Regions from separate parts of the Homo sapiens genome. Here all the other regions are linked to region 1. The links are contacts of gene promoters, found by promoter capture Hi-C in blood cells and fetal thymus (Javierre and others, 2016). All regions are on one chromosome and are shown on one strand. The core of a region is centred on a gene start or on the middle of the fragment in contact, and the rest is flanking DNA. Distances in the headings are between cores, read along the strand shown.

Region 1 (2,777 bases), core at 111-2,610:
ACCTAGAAGACAGAACTGAATTGTTTTTCATAATTATTTCTCTTTCTCAATCACAATTTAAATTCCAAGATCCTTTCTTTATCAAGAAGTTCAACGGTTTGATCTTTTCAGTGCTAGAAAAGTTATGCACACGGGCTAACTATATGTCTACTAGAAATTCTTCCCATTCGCTGATACTTCCTTACATTTTAACATCTAGAAATAGCATTCCCAATGTTAGCTCATTTGCACCTTACATTTATTTTTAAAATATGAAACATCTATAATGTGCCAGGCACCCCGTTAGATGTTAGAAACACAAGATGAGTAAATAAAAATTCGTCAACAGTAAAATTTTGATTTTCTTTCCAAAAGGTTGCAGCCTATGAAATCCATGGAGTACGGATTACTATTACTTCACGTTACAGATGAAGGATCTAAGCGCTCAGGGGTTGAAAGGTCTTATGTCAGTTCTCACATATAGTGACTAAAGAGCCAGGGCTTCAGTAATCATCCCTGGCTCCGGGCTCAGGGCATTCCGGTATTTTTTCAAAGGAAATTCCGGAATACTTAGTATTGTATCCCCTCCATTTCCCAAGAGCAAAAAGTAAAGCATCTTGGATCCCCTTGTAATGTTCACGTGAGGAACAGGTGTTCTCTGGGTGTGCTAGAAAAGCAAGGCACCAGTGGGAGTTGAAGATCCTAAGCAGCCGCTGTAACCAGACCAAGTTAATCTGTGGAAACCAGAGCACCCGGCCAAGGCGATGCTATTTCAATTGGGTGTCATAGGTGACTCATCAGAGACGCCTTGCTTTTGGGCCTTGTGATATTTTTCTTCAGGGTGGGACGTCAGATTTCCTTTGCATTTTTGGACAACAGCCCTCCTGTCCATTTCCACATTTTTCTGGTTTTACAGCTCTCACGCAGAGCTTGATTTCATACCGGAAGCTAGTCACTGGCAGGAAGTTTACGGAAGAAGAAAAAGGTAAAAAAATGTGCCGGGGGCCAGGAGAGAGGCCTAAAATGGGGAAATTCGCACTTGAAGAGCTTTCCCTACCCCAGCCCCTCAGAATGACAGTTCTCCTCCGCCAGAAGACTACCTCTCCCGGCAGGCACTGCGCGCTCGACGGCCACAGGCTGGCCAGCTCCCTGCTCTCCACCTCCATCCGAATCAGCCAATAGGAATTCCCGGCTTGGGCCTCCGCCCGACCCGGACCACGCGGGAGCCGGGGCAATCAAACTACATTTCCCGACACGCATGTGCTCGCGTCGTGGCCAATCAGCGCCAGGAATTCGGAGGCTAGGGGTGGAGCCAGATGCACAGGACACCCCATTGGCCAGGGGAAGCTTAGAAGAGCCGGAACCCGGGAGCTAGAGAAGCGAAATGACATTTCCTTTTTAAATAGCTGGAGTCGGGGCCCCATCGAGAAATGGCCGCGTCGGCAGGTGGGTCGTGTGGTGGCCAGGGCGGCGTGGAGGGAGGTGAGGGGGAAGGTGGGCCGGGGCCGGCCACAGGCAGTGGGATGAGGACGTAGCGGTGCGGAGCTAGAGGGAAGGATGAAGCGGTGGAGGGGAATGAGAAGAGGGAGGATGAATGGTGCGGAGGGCGGTGGGCGGTCCGGCGGGACCGGGATGGGGAGGCTGGGTACCCGCCGGCGCTGCGCCCCAGGAGGCAGCGGGAGGCGGCTTGAGGGGGCACCGGCGGCCGCCGTTGTTCGAGCTTCCCTCGTGAGGCTCTGCCCTCGGCTCTCGGCGGAGTCCGCGCAGACGCCTCTCCTGGGCTGCGAGCGCGTTTCCTCCGCGAGCACGGGTGCCGGGCTCGCCGGGCTCCGCAGGAGCAGGCTGGCCTTTGAACTTGTTCCGCCGATCGCGCTCCGCCCTCTGTCTCCCAGATCCTTAACTCGCGGTCCCACGAGGTCGTGCGTATATCCACAGACATTTGTATATATCTTGTAGGGGGAAAAAGCCTAGCAAGCAGACACACAAACAGAAAAATCCCGCGATGCCGTAACTGGCTCGGCACTTCTTGTAGTTGTACGATTTTTCTCCTCCTAGATTTAAGTAAGTCTTCCCCAACACCGAATGGGATTCCATCTTCAGACCCAGCCAGCGATGCCATGGACCCCTTCCATGCTTGCAGTATTCTTAAGCAACTCAAAACAATGTACGATGAAGGACAGTTGACAGACATTGTAGTGGAAGTGGATCACGGGAAAACATTTTCCTGTCATAGAAACGTTCTTGCTGCAATCAGCCCTTACTTCAGGTATGATGATGGTAGGAACTTCTGTTGGTATCTGCACCAAGCTCCCTTTCCCCCTCAGTATTGTCCACTTGATGTTTATATTGAGATGCGATAATGAAATGAAACCAATGACTTTGTTTCTTGAGACTAGAAAACAAGTCCTCTCTTAACTAAGACCTTCTTTTGACTTGAGGGATTCTTCTAGATTTCGGGTGATTGCTTTTTAAGTTAGTGGGCCTGTGTGTGTGTGTTTGAGGTAAATGACCAGAAAATCTAGACTTGTGCTGGTCAGTATGGAAGCCAGTAGCCATGTGTGGCTGTTTAAACTTAAATTATAAGTTAAATAAAATAAAACATTTAGTTCCCCAGGTACACTAAATACTTTTTGAGTGCTTGCTGGTCACCTGCAGCTAGTGGCTGCCATATTGGGCAGCACAGAAATACAGCATTTTCATCATTGACAATTTTATTGGACAGTGCTGATCTAGAATTTCTTTCAAAAAGTTATCCATAATGCATGTTTCTTTAGTGTATGGGACTCTTTTATAAAATA
Region 2 (2,777 bases), core at 189-2,688, 6.0 Mb after region 1:
AATACAGGTGTGAGCCACCGTGCCCGGGCAGTACCTTTTCTTTTAAAAGCTCACAGATGAGTATAAAAATGTCCACGCACTGGCTGGGAGCCAGATGATTTGGGTTCTGGGTTCTAGTTCTGTCTCCCCAGACTTGCTGTCTGTGACACAGCTTTCCCATTTGTAAAATGTCAGGGCTGCAGAGGACTTCTGAGGTTTCCGCCCTCTCCTACCTCCTGGGAGATTATGTCATGTAATAATGCTAACAGTGGTAATAAAAACCCAGCCACGTTGAGTGTTCCAGGTTTCACGCACTGTGCCAAATGTTTCACATTTGCCATTTCACTCAATCCTCGTGGCCGTTTTACAACCCTCATTTTATAAATAAGAACCCTGAAGCTGCCTGAGTTTAGGTAACTACTTCAGGGCCACACAAGGAGTAAGTAGTTGAGTTGGGATTTGAATATTGATTCCAAACCTTGAGCTCTTAATGACTTTGCTGTATACATTACTTCTTGCCACAGGTGGGCCAGTGACGAACGAACGTTGGGTTAAGCAGGGAGGTATTCTTGTTAGGATTATTAGCAATGCTTAGTGTATGTATGTATTGTTAATTTTATTATTATTTTTTTGAAACAGTCTCGCTTTGTCGCCTAGGCTGGAGGCAGTGGCGCGATATCGGCTCACTGCAACCTCCGCCTCCTGGATTCAAGCGATTCTCGTGCCTCAGCCTCCCGAGTAACTGGGATTACAGGCACGAGCGACCACGCCCGACTACATTTTGTATTTTTAGTAGAGACGGGGTTTCGCCATGTTGGCCAGGTTGGTCTTCAACTCCTGACTTCAGGTGCTCCGCCCGCCCCAGCCTCCCAAAGTGCTGGGATTACAGGCTTGAGTCACCGCGCCCGGCCTGTATTTATTTTTATATAGAGAAGGGCGAGGGAGCGGGGTCATTTTGTTACCCAGACTGGTCTCGAACTCCTGGGCTCAAGCGATCCTCTCGCCTCGGCCTCCCTCCCAAAGTGTTGGGATCACCGGCCTGAGCCCCCTGCCCGGCCTCGCTCTACGTTTTTTAGGCGCATTCTGAACGTGAAGTGTATACACTGAATTCTCACAGCAACTGCATAGGGCATCAGTACCAGTGCCCTTACTGTACAGATGGGGAAAATGAGGCTCAGACAGGCGAAGTAAGTAGCTTAAGTTCACACAGAGAGGAAATGGCAGGGATTCAAAGCCTAGGAGTCCGCCTGCAACCCTCTCGCCTGACCGTCCAGTCTTCAGCTCCGCGGAGCCTGGGCCTGGGGCTGGGGCTGGGGCTGAGGCTCTGGAAGCCGCCGGGACGCAGACGCCACTGGGCCCCAGCGTCACACCTCGGCCGCGCACGCGCTCTCGGGTTCCGGGCCGGAGCGCGCGGCGGGAGCGAGGACGGCGGCAGGGAGCGTGCGCGCGGTGACGTACCGGGCGCCATGTTGGAGGGTTGGTGGTAGCGGCTTGGGGAGGTGCTCGCTCTGTCGGTCTTGCTCTCTCGCACGCTTCCCCCGGCTCCCTTCGTTTCCCCCCCCCGGTCGCCTGCGTGCCGGAGTGTGTGCGAGGGAGGGGGAGGGCGTCGGGGGGGTGGGGGGAGGCGTTCCGGTCCCCAAGAGACCCGCGGAGGGAGGCGGAGGCTGTGAGGGACTCCGGGAAGCCATGGACGTCGAGAGGCTCCAGGAGGCGCTGAAAGGTGGGGGTAGCTGCCCCCTCTCCATTCCCCCTCACCTTCTCCGGCTCGCTCTTCTCTCCTTTCAGGGCGGATGGTTCCGAGGACCGGGGCCGGGCGCGGCGTGGGGAGAGTGCTTCCCGGGCTCCCATCCCCCTCCACCTCCCCAGGGGCGGGGAGCCCTGTGGGCAGCTCTCTCCCGCCCCGCTCTGGCTTTGTGTCGGCCGCCGGCGTCTGGGCTGGGGGAGGGGAGCCGGGGAAACTCTTGCGGGGGCCCCAGTCTTTCTCCCACCCGTTCAGGGGACGAGTGGCGGACCCGCAGACCCCTCCCTCCCAGATATCCTCTTTTCTCCACCAGGCTACCCGTACGCTAGGCGTTGGGGTGGGAGAAAAAGTAAACGGTTGGTGGGGGCGGGGGTAGGGGGTAGCATCGCAACTTTTAAGTTGTCTCAGTATGCCTTTTTCAGGGCTTTTGAAGTCATCTTTCCGCGCCCTAATTTCGAGGTGGTTGCCTTCACTGTTCTTGATTGCACGCCTTCCACGCAACAGGCTTGAGAACAGTGGCTTACAAACTTCGAGTAGAGAGATTTCAGCGTTTTGAGAATTATTCTTTGACATTCAGAATCATTTGGGGACGGCAACTTGGGGTAGTTGGTGCTTCTTAGAAAGGCAGATTTATGGACTTAGATGAACAATTGGTGGGAGTCGGGGCCTGGGGATTTTTATTTTCACTGGATTCCCAGCTTAATATAATGCTGGTGTTCCCCCGGACCACACTTCGAGAAGCACTGCGTTAAAAATGGTTTGTGAAGTTGAGTGCCCCCTTTAGGAGGATTCTTGTTATCTGTAAAGAGGGTGACATGTTGGAAGTAGAACTTGGAGGATTGAGGTGGTAATTTGGTTGAGAGGCCTTATTTTTTTAATTTTGTATTTAATTGATTTTTAATAAGGTAAAGGACTAGGAGGAAAGTTTGTTTTTAGAGCGCTTTTGAGAAAACTGATAACGTTTTTTTTTCTTCCTTCATCTAGATTTTGAGAAGAGGGGGAAAAAGGAAGTTTGTCCTGTCCTGGATCAGTTTCTTTGTCATGTAGCCAAGACTGG
Region 3 (2,777 bases), core at 202-2,701, 5.7 Mb before region 1:
TTCTTTCTTTACTAAATATTTCTAGTCCAGGTTGCAGCAGGTGGACACAGGCCGGCAGCCATGAACGCAGGTCCACATGGGAGTTGTAGTTCCGAGTCAAGCGGCTGCTCTACAGAACGGCTAGAAGCGAGACTTCGTCTCCCAGGAGACATCTCGCCGTGCAAAATGGCACGCCACGAGGTGGAGTACCTGCCCGACGAGAAACAAGAGGCGGGACTGCAACTCCCAGAAGCCTCCGCGGCCAAGGCCTCAGGCCGCAGGCTGAAGCCAAGGAGGGAGAGTTCAGGTAGATCCGGCTTAACATCAGGTGCGAGTAGGGACCACCCTTGGTAGTCTGGGCCCGGCCCAGGTCAGAACCTTACTAAAACAACCACTGTGAGTATTTTCTATTGGTCCCAGCACATTTCTGAGAGACCAGAATAATAATAGCAGTAAATCTGCAAGTGGTAAACTTTCACAAGCATAACCTCAATTTAGATTTCGGCTTCAGGCAACATCCTTTGGCCACTTGACCTGGGAGCATTGAGCTCCTTGTTTCCCAGATAAGCGCTGTGAGTGGCTGTTCCAAGGTAACACAGCGAGGGCAGAATGTGAGCCTACAGAGAAATCTGCAGATGCATCTCAAGTTCCACTAACCTGCCTCCTTACCCCCCACCACCACCAACTTGGATATACCTTTAAAATTCCCCCCTTTGACGCTAAAAATAAAAACAACAACCATAAAATAAGTGTAAGAAAGTCCGACCAAGTACCGATGAGTTCTCCCACAACAATAAATTCGATGCCTCTTTGCCTGTTTTTGAAGTAGTAATGTAAAATTATCTCCCAAAATGCTGCCTTCTCTATACTCCGGTTTGCTCCTGTCCTGGGCACGTGTTCAGCAACCCCTTAGGGGAATCCAGAGCTGCGTGTTTAACACAGACCTGTTGGGACGGATTTTCGCTACTTGTCTATGAAACTGACGAACCATCCCAAAACGGCGGGTGCCGACTACACCCCCAGAGCCAAGAGCTGTGGCGTCCCCGGACCCGCTGGCGTGGCCCCGTGCCTCAGTTTCCCCAATGTATAAACACGGTGGAGGAGGAACGGGTTAGGGCTAGGGTCGGTGCTTGGGAATTGGGGGGCCCGAGTCCCCACCCTGAGACCCTCGTGGGGCGGAAGAGTACTCGGGACAGAAGCCCACCGCCCCGTGAGCGGCGCCGGCCCCACTGGGCTCCGGGGTGATGACCTGACGCGCGTGGAAACCCAGACCCGCGCCCCAGAAACAGTATTCCACTTGGGCTTGCCTCCCCGCCCCTACCTTCCAGGATGTTGACAGCTGGGAATGAAAGGCAGAGGGAGGGAGCGCGGGGCCGGAGCGCCGCCTGGGAGTGTGCCCACTGGGTGGCCGCCTGAGGGACCCGGGAACAGAGGGCAAAAAGTCCTGTGACCGGACAGAGCAGAGCGGGGACTGCAATTCCCAGAAGACCCCACGGTAGGGGCGGGACCCAAGATGGCCGCTTGTCTGGGGACAGGAGCGGAGGCCAATACGCGCAGAGCATGCGCCTACGCCGGGCCAATTGAAAGCCATAGTGACAGTAACCCTGATTCAGGGGCGGGAAACACTGACCACAGAAGACAAGTTGAGGTGAGAATCCCCTTACAAGGGGGTTTGGGGCATAAATCGCACAATCTTTGGCTTTTTCTAACTAGAAAAAGAAACATGATTCTTTTCACGTGTAACGAAAGGCTGTACCGCACTTTTGCTTTTTTCTTTCCTCCCAAAACGCGTTTAACTATCCCTTCACGACTTCCCACTGGCTGGATTTCTTTTCGTTTCATTTCCCCACTCTGGATCTTTCTGGATTCCTTAAGCCTTCTTTTCTTTATGTGTCTCTCAGAAACACAGACTTGCAGTCCCTGGCTTGATCCATCAAATAATGTGGTCATTTACGACTACGCTCAGCCCTCCCTGGCATCCTAACAAAATTGCACCACATGCGCCCCTTCTCTTTTCCTTTCTGTCTTTTCTGTGCTGTTTTTCTCCTTAGCATTTGTCGTTACGAAGCATTGTATAAAATTTACGTATTTATCTTTTTTACCATCTTACTTTCTCACTAGAATGCAAGATCCCTGCAGATGTGGATTTTTGTTTTGGTCACTGTAGTCTTTCTAGCACCTAGAAAAGTGCCCAGCACATAGTAAATACACCGTATTTTCAATAATTGAACGAAATCTAGAGTGACCTTTCTCCCCTAGTCTCCCTTTCTCTGGTGCAGATCAACCCGTTTCTGACCACCATGGTTCCTTGTGCTTGTTCCCCTGTTTAATCCAAAATCATTATTGATGTATTCTGTGCCAAATGCCATGTGGGTGCTGGAGAAATCATTGATTCAGACCCAATTCCTAACCTCAAAATGCTCTGTCTAGTGACGTATGAAAAGTAAAATTAATTTTACAATAAATGCAATTACAAATTGCAGAACACCTACGTAATTTTCACAAGGTCATGCAGCTCCTAAGCAAGGACTAGATTCCTGGCTGCAGACTCTTGCCATTACATCGGGAAAAACAAAGAGCAGTTTTCTCTCAGACAAACACTAAGATAGGTCCCCATTTTCCTTAGCACCATTTCCTTTCTCTGTCTCTCACTTTTTTATTTGGCCTGATTCATTACATGCAGGCAATTACATCAAGTCTTAGATCTCTCATTATTTCTAATATTTGAATCCCATGGAGAGTAGCAAGGTGTCCTACAAAGTGTCCTGGTGTGAAAATCTGATGTCCTTGGAAGCTTG

What was found. Contacts are between HindIII fragments. The CHiCAGO score rates a contact against its expected background, and 5 or more counts as called.
Region 2: a contact is called between the fragment with the promoter of PPP4R2 here and the fragment with the promoter of KBTBD8 in region 1, in 3 of 17 cell types (total B cells, total CD4 T cells and fetal thymus). The highest score is 5.8, in total B cells.
Region 3: the fragment with the promoter of FHIT here is called in contact with the fragment with the promoter of KBTBD8 in region 1 in 1 of 17 cell types (fetal thymus); the score reaches 8.8 in fetal thymus.

The regions. Positions count from the first base shown.
Region 1 is chr3:66,996,947-66,999,723 of GRCh38, forward strand. KBTBD8 (kelch repeat and BTB domain containing 8) reads left to right here and starts at 1,361. Exons shown (of 4, transcript NM_032505.3): 1 at 1,361-1,425; 2 at 2,035-2,245. The coding sequence starts at 1,410. RefSeq lists an enhancer at 1,019-1,118 and a silencer at 1,459-1,778. The HindIII fragment of the contact is 2,180 bases long and covers 1,325-2,777 here.
Region 2 is chr3:72,995,373-72,998,149 of GRCh38, forward strand. It overlaps PPP4R2 (protein phosphatase 4 regulatory subunit 2), which reads left to right and starts at 1,439. Exons shown (of 9, transcript NM_174907.4): 1 at 1,439-1,699; 2 at 2,705-2,777. The coding sequence starts at 1,666. LOC124909395 (a long non-coding RNA gene) reads right to left here and starts at 1,819. Exons shown (of 2, transcript XR_007095961.1): 1 at 1,735-1,819. RefSeq lists enhancers at 1,064-1,113, 2,374-2,423 and a silencer at 1,294-1,923. The HindIII fragment of the contact is 5,282 bases long and covers 1-2,777 here.
Region 3 is chr3:61,250,001-61,252,777 of GRCh38, forward strand. It overlaps FHIT (fragile histidine triad diadenosine triphosphatase), which reads right to left and starts at 1,452. Exons shown (of 10, transcript NM_002012.4): 1 at 1,301-1,452. It overlaps LOC124909387 (a long non-coding RNA gene), which reads left to right and starts at 1,592. Exons shown (of 2, transcript XR_007095939.1): 1 at 1,592-1,627. RefSeq lists enhancers at 41-320, 601-730, 871-1,000, 1,131-1,190, 1,255-1,549. The HindIII fragment of the contact is 4,935 bases long and covers 1-2,771 here.